Linked DNA regions of Homo sapiens: region 1 is linked to region 2. The links are contacts of gene promoters, found by promoter capture Hi-C in human tissues and cell types (Jung and others, 2019). All regions are on one chromosome and are shown on one strand. The core of a region is centred on a gene start or on the middle of the fragment in contact, and the rest is flanking DNA. Distances in the headings are between cores, read along the strand shown. Region 1 holds the start of LOC124902892 (a long non-coding RNA gene). Region 2 holds the start of CAPZA3 (capping actin protein of muscle Z-line subunit alpha 3).

Region 1 (4,554 bases), core at 1,871-4,370, 540 kb after region 2:
AGCTAGGAGAGAGAGATTCAGATTGGTGTCTCAGAAATCTGGATAATAAATTGGAGAAAGTTCAAAAGTTACTTAAGTGATTGAAGTGAGAAGAGGATGAGGATGTATTCGGGATATAATTGACAAGTCTAGTTGATTGCTTTGATGTGCTTGATTGCAAACTCGTCTTGCTCAAGATTAAGTTTGGTGCCGGGCAAGGTGGCTTGAGTCTGTAATCCCAGCACTTCGGGAGGCCAAGGCGGGCAGTTCAGTTGAGGCCAGGAGTTCGAGACCAGCCTGGCCAAGATGGTGAAACCCCATGTCTACTAAAAATACAAAGATTAGCCAGACATTTTAGTGCTCACCTGTAATCTCAGCTACTGGGGAGGCTGAGGCAGGAGAATCTCTTGAACCCGGGAGGCAGAGGTTGCAGTGAGCCAGGATCGTGCCACTGCACTCCAATCTGGAAGTTTCTTGAAGGAAATCAAAAATGACACCCTGCCTTTTAGGCCTGGGCAACTAGGGTGATTTGGTGCCTTTTACTGCAAAGAAAAGATTTGGGAAAAGAGAAGATAGTGGTTGGATGGGTTATGTGAGGTAATACATATGTTAATTAGCTTGGTTTAGCCATTCCACAATATACATATTTCAAAACATGTTGTTCACCATAAATATATATAATCTTATTTGTCAATTTTCTTTAAAAAGGAAACTGGCAGATGCTCAAATTTACCAGTAATCAGGGAATTGCACATTAAAGAAACAATTAGGCATTATTTTTCACTTACCAGATTGACCAAAATCATAAATAAAAGAATTAAGGCATAGATGAATAAAAATTAGATTACTTAATGTTGGATGGAATGACAGACATGAATAAGCTTATATATTACTAGCAGGAAAATAAATTAATACAATGTGATTAGACAGAAAAGAAGCAGGAAGCAGGTCTGGGGGGAAAAAAATGAAAGGATGTTTGGAAGTACTTGGGAAAGTAATCACTTTCAGAAAAATTATAAAAATCCAAATCAGAAGATTGGTGCGTCTCTGCTCACCAAGTTAAATCTTACTTCAAAGAAGAATCACTTTTCCCCGAAAATCATACTTTCTTAAGTTTAAAAGTGTATAGAGAGAGTCAACAGATATCTGGAAATTAGAGGATTTTTAAAAATTGTGAAGTATAAATACTAGTTTTAGGTTCCTTTATGAGTGTAATTAATATCAGTAAAGTCTTTCAGTGACTTCTTCCTTTTGGACATACACCAACAGCTTCTGAAGGCTGGTTTTAGGTTATTTTGAGCTAAGATTTTCTCTGGGTTCCTCCTACATTTTTGGGTTAACTGTTATGCCAGTTTTTATAAATACTGTTATTTAGATGTTCTTTTGAAATGGCTTGAGTCCACTTTGGATCATAAGAAAATATCATCTACATTATGATATAAACTTCATCATAAAAATAGTTGTAGTGTTTTATAATGAAATGATTTTTTATTGGTGGAATGAAACAATTGTAATTCAATATATAAATCATTTTTTAAAAAGCTTTATGAAAGTCTTCTATTATTAAAGTTCTGATAGAAAGAAAAAGGTTTAATATTTAGTCAAAATAGTAGATCCCTGCATCTGTGAACAAAGCTTTAAAGTTTCATTCTGAGTGGCAGGCACTGTTAAGATGCATGGTCCTTAAGCCATTGTTCTGCATGGCAGAATCACAGGGAAAGGGCTTTTATGGTGCTTGACAGGCAGCTGCTGGCCAATGGGGCACTAAATCTGATGTAGGAGCTTAGAGTGTTCATTTCTTAAGCTTTCAGTTAAAAGTAAATCACACTTTGCTTAATTTGAATTTCTTTGGGGAAAAAAGTCACTAAAGGGAATTGTAGTTTTGAAAAACAGGTCTCAAAGTGCTAGAAATATATGGGATAAAAATAAATTTGCTTGATAATAATTTAATTTTTAATTAAAATTCCCCAAATGTGGTTCCAAAGATGACAGAAGAGCCTTTTAATGTCATTAATTAGGCAAGCTTACTAAAAATATATATATCCTGCTGTTAATGATCATATGATAGTTGACAGTTCAGGTTCAATATACGTCTCTACAACAGGGTCCAACCCAAACATTATGAATACTTCAGAGCACTTGACAAAAGTGTTTTAGTGTAATTATATTTTTGAACTATAATTTAGATATTAGTTTATAAGCAACTTTGGGTGTGTTTTAGATTGATAATGTATGTCCCCTTCCTTACATGTTTCTATGATATAGCTCAGTGCTTAATCTCTAGCTTTTTGCATATTAAGCCTCCTGTAGTATTTCTTCAATTTATGAATGACCAAACAAACCAAGGTGTGTCAGAGTAAATTGCTTTAGTACTAGGGCAGTCTCTTTGATGGAGTCAGCTTTCCCTAGCTGACATATTTGCACATAGTCATGGGATTGCCAGCTCTGGATGTTTTCCAGTTTCTGGCTTTCGTGTGATAGGAGACGGTGAAGATGGGGAGGAAGACCAAGCAGAAACAAAATAGGAAATACCCATGGAGGGAAAGCCTCAAGGAATTGAACTCTTTATACTGGTTATATAAGAGCAATTGGGTACCTTTCTCCCTCTCTCCACCCCGAAGGCATCGAATCGGATGGTTGGCCTGAATGCAGCGGTTCTTGTCTGGAGACATTTCGTTCAATTTTGAACAACCTCTTTTTGAGTAGAGACATTGAAATCCTGAAGAACAACCACCATGATGAAGGAAATTTAGTTTAGGAGAAACGGTTGAAAGAATTAGAAATATTTAAAATACAAAATAAGGCATAGAATTTTAGAGCTCTAGAATAAGTTTATGATGAAATCATCTTCTAGATGAGAAAAGAGGATCCCAGTTTCAGTTGGCCATTGGCTAGATTTTAATAGCATATTAAAGAGCTCTCTGGTGCGATAAGATTATATCCTTCCTAATTTTTAATACCTTTTTATTTTTAACTAAGTCATTGTGATAGATGAGTATGGTTTTTTAAAAATAATATTCATATCGTGGCAAAATTTAAAAATAGAGGGATTTTTTTAAAAAATCAAAAAGTTTAGGGATCACTGGCATAGTTAAAAGAGTGCTGCTTTAGAAAGTAGGAGACCTGCATTTTAGTTCTATTTAGCCCGCAAGCTCTTTCTGTAACCCCAAGTATGATCTCTTGGACCAGGTGTGGCTCACACCTGTAATCCTGGCACTTTGGGAGGCCAAGGTGGTTGGATCACCTGAGGTCCGGAGTTCAAGACCAGCCTGGCCAACATGGTGAAACCCTGTCCCTACTAAAAATACAAAAATTAGCTGGGTGTAGCAGCAGGCACCTGTAATCACAGCTACTCGGGAGGCTGAGGCAGGAGAATCGTTTGAACCTGGGAGACAGGTCCAGTGAGCGGAGATCATGCCATTGCACTCCAGCCTGGACGACAGAGTGAGACTCCATCTCAAAAAAAAAAAAAATACATACATATATATATAAAATCTCTTGGTCTTTTCTCCCCTACTCCCCTACCCTGCCCCCAATATTCTGAAAGCCCCAGAATATGTAACTCATCCAAGGTCTAAGTACTTAATAGGAAAGCAAGAATCAAAACTTGGCTGTCTTGATTTTTGATCAACCACTTTTCCTGTTTTACTGTTTTCCCACTATATCCCCTCTGGATGCTTTAACCCACAAAGAGAAGGTATATTTAACATGAGATTTTTCTCTTAGTGTAAAGGTAACATAATTTTACTGCCCCAATAGACACAAATTATGCCGGCAGTTTATTAATTAGGTGCCTCATAGTCCAGAATGCACTTAATTCATCACAATGAAACCTGTTTTTTTTTTTTTTTTTTTTTTTTTTTTTGGAGACAGGGCCATCCCTCTGTTGGCCAGGCTGGAGTACAGTGGCACAATCTCAGCTCACTGCAACCTCTGCCTCCTGGGTTCAAGCAGTTCTCCTGCCTCAACCTCCCGAGTAGCTGGGAGTGCAGGAGCATGCTACCACACCTGACTAATATTTTCTAGTTTTTGTAGAGACGGGATTTTGCTATGTTGAACTCCTGACCTCAAGTGATCCACCCGCCTTGGCCTCCCAAAGTGCTGGGATTACAGGGGTGAGCCGCTGCACCCAGCCTGAAATCTTTTTGTAACTATAATATATCAGTATTTGTGCATTGTTACTGACAGGTCTTTGGGTCAAAAGAGAGCTCTTATATCCAGATTATCAGCGAAGGATTCCCAGATTATTAAGAGTATGGTCAAATGATTTTCCCATCAAATATTTAATCCCTTCGGGTCCATGTAATTACCAATATCTCTGACATTTTCACAACCAGTAGGAGCCCATGTAATATTAGGAAAAAGTTGTTAACTAAACATTGAAAGAAGAGATCAGAAAACCTGAGTTTGTGGAGTCCCAACCCTTCCACATACTTGGTTCATTGAATTCTGTTGATTTTGATATTAGGATATAAATTTATGCCTATGGAGATGATTGTATAAGATGAATACTTGTAATTTAATTTTTCTTTTTCTTTTTTTTTTTTTGAGACAGAGTGTCTGTCACCAGCACGA
Region 2 (4,698 bases), core at 1,499-3,998:
TTTGGTCCTGGGCTTTTCTTCGTTGGGCAGTTTTTGATTACTGATTAAGTCTCCAAACAGGGTCTCACTATGTTACCCAGGCTGGTCTCAAACTCCTAGCCCCAAGTGATCCTCCCACCTTGGCCTCTCAAAGCATTGGGATTACAGGTACAAATCACTGCACACAGCCTCTCAGTCTCCTTTTTGTTATTGGTCTGTTTAACCTTTCTAGTTCTTCTTGGTTCAGTCTTGATGGGTTATATGGTTCTTGAAATTTCCCTTTTTTTTCTAGATTGTCCAATTTTATGGTGTATGATTGCTCTATGTGTTTTTCATTTTTGTGAGATCTGTTGTAATGTCTCCACTTTCATTTCTGATTTTATTTGACTCCTCTCTCTTTTTTCTTACTCTAAGTATTTGTCAATTTTATTTAACTTTTCAAAAAAACAAGTCTTAGTTTCCTCAATTTCTTCTAATTTTTTTCTTTTCTATTTTAGTTATTTCTGTGCTAATCTGTATTATTTCCTCCCTTCTGCTAACTTTGGGCTTATTCTCCACTCTTTTTATAAATCACTAACATCTAATACAGTTACCATTATCAGTCTGATATAATTAGACATCCAATCCTAGGTTTAATGTTAGCATTTCTGTATGCTCAGGAAATTATTCTAAACTGATATCCTGGTATTATTTCAGATTTTCTCAACAACTAATTTTACCTTCTACTGAAATGCTCTCCATCTTGATTGTAAATATAGTTAGTATAATTAATTGCTTTTCTTCTTAAGAGACTAACCTTTATATGACAATTACTGACATTGGATTAAGTTCCACCTAGGATAGGATAGGCAGGGGGTGGATGTCATCTTACCTTAAAAATCTGTTTCACATGAATATAACTGCACCGAATATCTAATTTTTCAAGTAACCTCTGAGTTTTTTCTAGGTTAATTTTTCCACCTCTGAAGTCATCCTGAATCTTTGACAAAAACCATGTAGAAGCACAAAAAAGTTAAGGAAATTCTCACAGAAAGTCATTGAATATTTAAAATTCCTAAAGAAACATTTGATTTACTGTATTATTTTTATTTTTAAAGAATATGTTTAAAGTAAATTATAGTATAATTGTATGATAAATATTTTTTAAAAAACAAAATTAAGTAGTTACTATGCTATGGTAAAGGTATGAAAGGGCATAGCACAGTAAAAATACAAAAAAAAGAATTAAAGTTAAAATTTGAGAATTGAAGTCATTACTTAGAACATACATTAAAACATTATAACAATCTATTGCCTGAAGGCATGAAGTTGGAAGGCAGCTAGACTTCAAGATCGCCTCTCACCTGACCTCTCTGTTTTAGTTCTCTCTTCCAGAAAGGTGAGCAAATTAACCCTGAATCTTAAGGAAAGTGGAAGCATTAGATGAATTCCTAATATGCCACCGAACACAGTTTCTGCTACTTAGTGTTCAATAAATAGTAACCATGACTGATAAAGTTATTATTACTACATTAGTCCAATGCCCAGCTACACACACACTCAAGACAGTACCATCAAAAAGCATCAGAAATACCATGGTGAGTGTATATTTGGTATGAAAAACGAAAAAAATTTTTAAAAGCTTACTTATCATAGATAAACTACAAAAACTAGGACACTTCCATTTGAAAAACTAAGATCGAAATGAGATAATGACAATTATCACTAAAATTATAAAAGGTATAGGTAAAAATTGTGCAAAACTACTAAGTTTCAGATTGTTAGAACGAATTAATGAGATCTCCTTAAATTTAATAGTTATGACTTAATCCAGCAAAGCTCATGTTCTTGTAAGAAAAAGATACCAGAATGCAGGGAAAGTTAGAAAAGCTCAGAACAAACAGGGAAAAGCAGTTCAACTTAAATGAAGAGGACTTAAATTCAGAACTCCTCGAAAAGAATAACAGCATCAAGTAAAGAGGATAAGTAGGAGAAAGAAGAAGAGGAGCAGAAAGAAGCTCTCAATGGATATCTCATTTCCATAGTTTCATGACCTGTAGAGCCGTTTCTCCTCACTTAGAAGTCTTTCCCCAGTAGGTGCTGTCATGGGTTCCAAATACAATTAACTCTGCCCCTTTGCAGAAAATAATTTCTTGATACTCATCAGCTGTTACCACTTTTCTAGGGAGAAAGCAGAGAACACACAGTGGTTTTTTTTGCCTTCGTTCTTTGAAGCTAGCTCACACTTAACCATAGAAACAGTATGCAAGATGTGGTACCTGCACTACCCTGCCCTTGAAACTGTTTGGCTTCTTACGTTCTGACCACCTCCAAACCCACAATATTTGAAAACACAGCTTTCCCTGATGTCTGGCATTTTTCCATGAACTGCCATTGTATCTCCTTTTATTTTTTACTACTTTGTTTAAACCCCTCAAACCTTTCATCATAATATGCTTCCAGTGGGTTTGGGCAGCTACTCTGAGAGCCTGAGTATAAATCAACACCATTGTGATTCCTGAAGTTGCAAAGTGCTGTCACTCTTGAAACTTTGGGCTGCTTCTCTAGATCGTTGACAACATATAATGCACACAGAGACACACCACTTTCGAAGAAGACTGTTCAGGAGGCTAAGTTCTTAAAATCTTCAAAAGAGGTATAGCTGGTTGGCTGGGCACCACACTGTCAGGTGACTGTCATTTTTTCCTTTTGGTCTGAATTCCCATTGTGATATCATCAGAGGTTCCACACTTCACAAGGAAAGCTTCTTATGACCTCATCAGGAGGCTCAGACCTTGCCAGACTGCCTGCTTTCATGGATAGACATAAAAACCTTCAGCTTGAATGTTAACACCTTGATGGGAAAGGTGGCTCATGGAATGTTTTCTTATCCTTTGAACACTCCTCATTTCAGAAGCTTTGCTTCTGTTGCAACCAAACATGACACTTAGCGTGCTGAGCAGGAAGGACAAGGAAAGAGTAATTCGCAGACTGTTATTACAGGCCCCTCCAGGGGAATTTGTAAATGCCTTTGATGATCTCTGTCTGCTTATCCGTGATGAAAAACTTATGCACCACCAAGGTGAGTGTGCAGGCCACCAACACTGCCAAAAATATTCTGTACCACTCTGCATCGATGGAAATCCAGTACTCTTGTCTCACCACAATGTAATGGGCGACTACCGATTTTTTGACCATCAAAGCAAACTTTCTTTCAAATATGACCTGCTTCAAAATCAGCTGAAAGACATCCAAAGTCATGGTATCATTCAGAATGAGGCAGAATACCTGAGAGTTGTTCTTCTGTGCGCCTTAAAACTGTATGTGAATGACCACTATCCAAAAGGAAATTGCAACATGCTGAGAAAAACTGTCAAAAGTAAGGAGTACTTGATAGCTTGCATTGAAGATCACAACTATGAAACAGGAGAGTGCTGGAACGGACTTTGGAAATCTAAATGGATTTTCCAAGTTAACCCATTTCTAACCCAAGTAACGGGAAGAATATTTGTGCAAGCTCACTTCTTCAGGTGTGTCAACCTTCATATTGAAATATCCAAGGACCTGAAAGAAAGCTTGGAAATAGTTAACCAAGCTCAACTGGCTCTAAGTTTTGCAAGGCTTGTGGAAGAGCAAGAGAACAAATTTCAAGCTGCAGTCTTGGAAGAATTACAGGAGTTATCCAATGAAGCCCTGAGAAAAATTCTACGAAGGGATCTTCCAGTGACCCGCACTCTTATTGACTGGCACAGGATACTCTCTGACTTGAATCTGGTGATGTATCCTAAATTAGGATATGTCATTTATTCAAGAAGTGTGTTGTGCAACTGGATAATATAAAGAATTGCTCCTGGTAACTATCTTGATTTGACTTGTTTGTGTTTCTTGGGAATGGTTATTTTCCTAAAATTGAGCAATCTGTAGAGATGTCTCTCACTTAGCCAATGCAAATTTAAATGGGAAAAGTGTAGCAAGTAATTTTACTTGGGGAATATTTATGAACAAGGCAAGAAAGTGTAAAGTAACTGTGTTTCATGGTGGTGACCATCATAAAGACCAAGACATTTGTTAGAAACTAAAATAGTTTTATAGAATCTGGGATTCCAGAAATAGTATAGAGGTGGCCAGGGTTAAGGCTGTGTGTGGGTGTGTACGTGTGTGTGTGTGTGTGTGTGTGTGTGTGTGAGAGAGAGAGAGAGAGAGAGAGAGAGACTTTTGACTGTTTCGAACTGAAAAGGTATACAAATGAATATCACTCCACAAATGATATTTTACATAACTCAATTCAGTCCTAGACCATCCACGAGATGGGGAATTTCAATAAAAGACATTAGGTTTGGATTTTCCACAAAACCAACAGATATCAAAAATCTAGCTCAGATGAAGGACTATTAGTAATTTTGGCTCCTCTTCCACTCTACTTTCTTCCCCTCAAGAATTGGGGTTACTCAAAATCCCTGGCTTGTCTGATAACTAACATGGTCTTCCAAGCCAACCAGAGAAGCCTGACTTCCCAAACTTTTACAGCCAGGCTTTTGTGAAGTCGTCACTGTAAACACTTAGAAGTACTTATTACATAACATGGCTTGTGCTAAATATTTTGCATAACATTTTTCATCACTAATCTGGTACTAGTATTATCTCCGTTGTACCTAAGAAAAACCTAAGTTCTCAAGTTGTTCACATCTTCCAGACACATAGTGTCACAGTTCACTTGTGCTGCTATAACAAAATACCATA

Evidence for each region. The method cuts DNA at HindIII sites, captures the fragments that hold promoters and counts their contacts. A contact is called where the count stands out against the background at its distance.
Region 1: a fragment that was not itself captured here is called in contact with the fragment with the promoter of CAPZA3 in region 2 in 2 of the 25 tissues and cell types used here (hippocampus and mesenchymal stem cells).

Annotation. Positions count from the first base shown.
Region 1 is chr12:19,276,222-19,280,775 of GRCh38, forward strand. All of the region lies in intron 11 of PLEKHA5 (pleckstrin homology domain containing A5), which reads left to right. It overlaps LOC124902892 (a long non-coding RNA gene), which reads right to left and starts at 2,665. Exons shown (of 3, transcript XR_007063235.1): 1 at 2,576-2,665; 2 at 345-521. The HindIII fragment of the contact is 8,203 bases long and covers 1-4,554 here.
Region 2 is chr12:18,735,371-18,740,068 of GRCh38, forward strand. It overlaps CAPZA3 (capping actin protein of muscle Z-line subunit alpha 3), which reads left to right and starts at 2,749. Exons shown (of 1, transcript NM_033328.3): 1 at 2,749-3,818. The coding sequence starts at 2,899. The coding sequence ends at 3,798. PLCZ1 (phospholipase C zeta 1) reads right to left here and starts at 2,642. Exons shown (of 15, transcript NM_033123.4): 1 at 2,562-2,642; 2 at 1,991-2,139; 3 at 851-974. The coding sequence starts at 2,001. The HindIII fragment of the contact is 1,043 bases long and covers 2,162-3,204 here.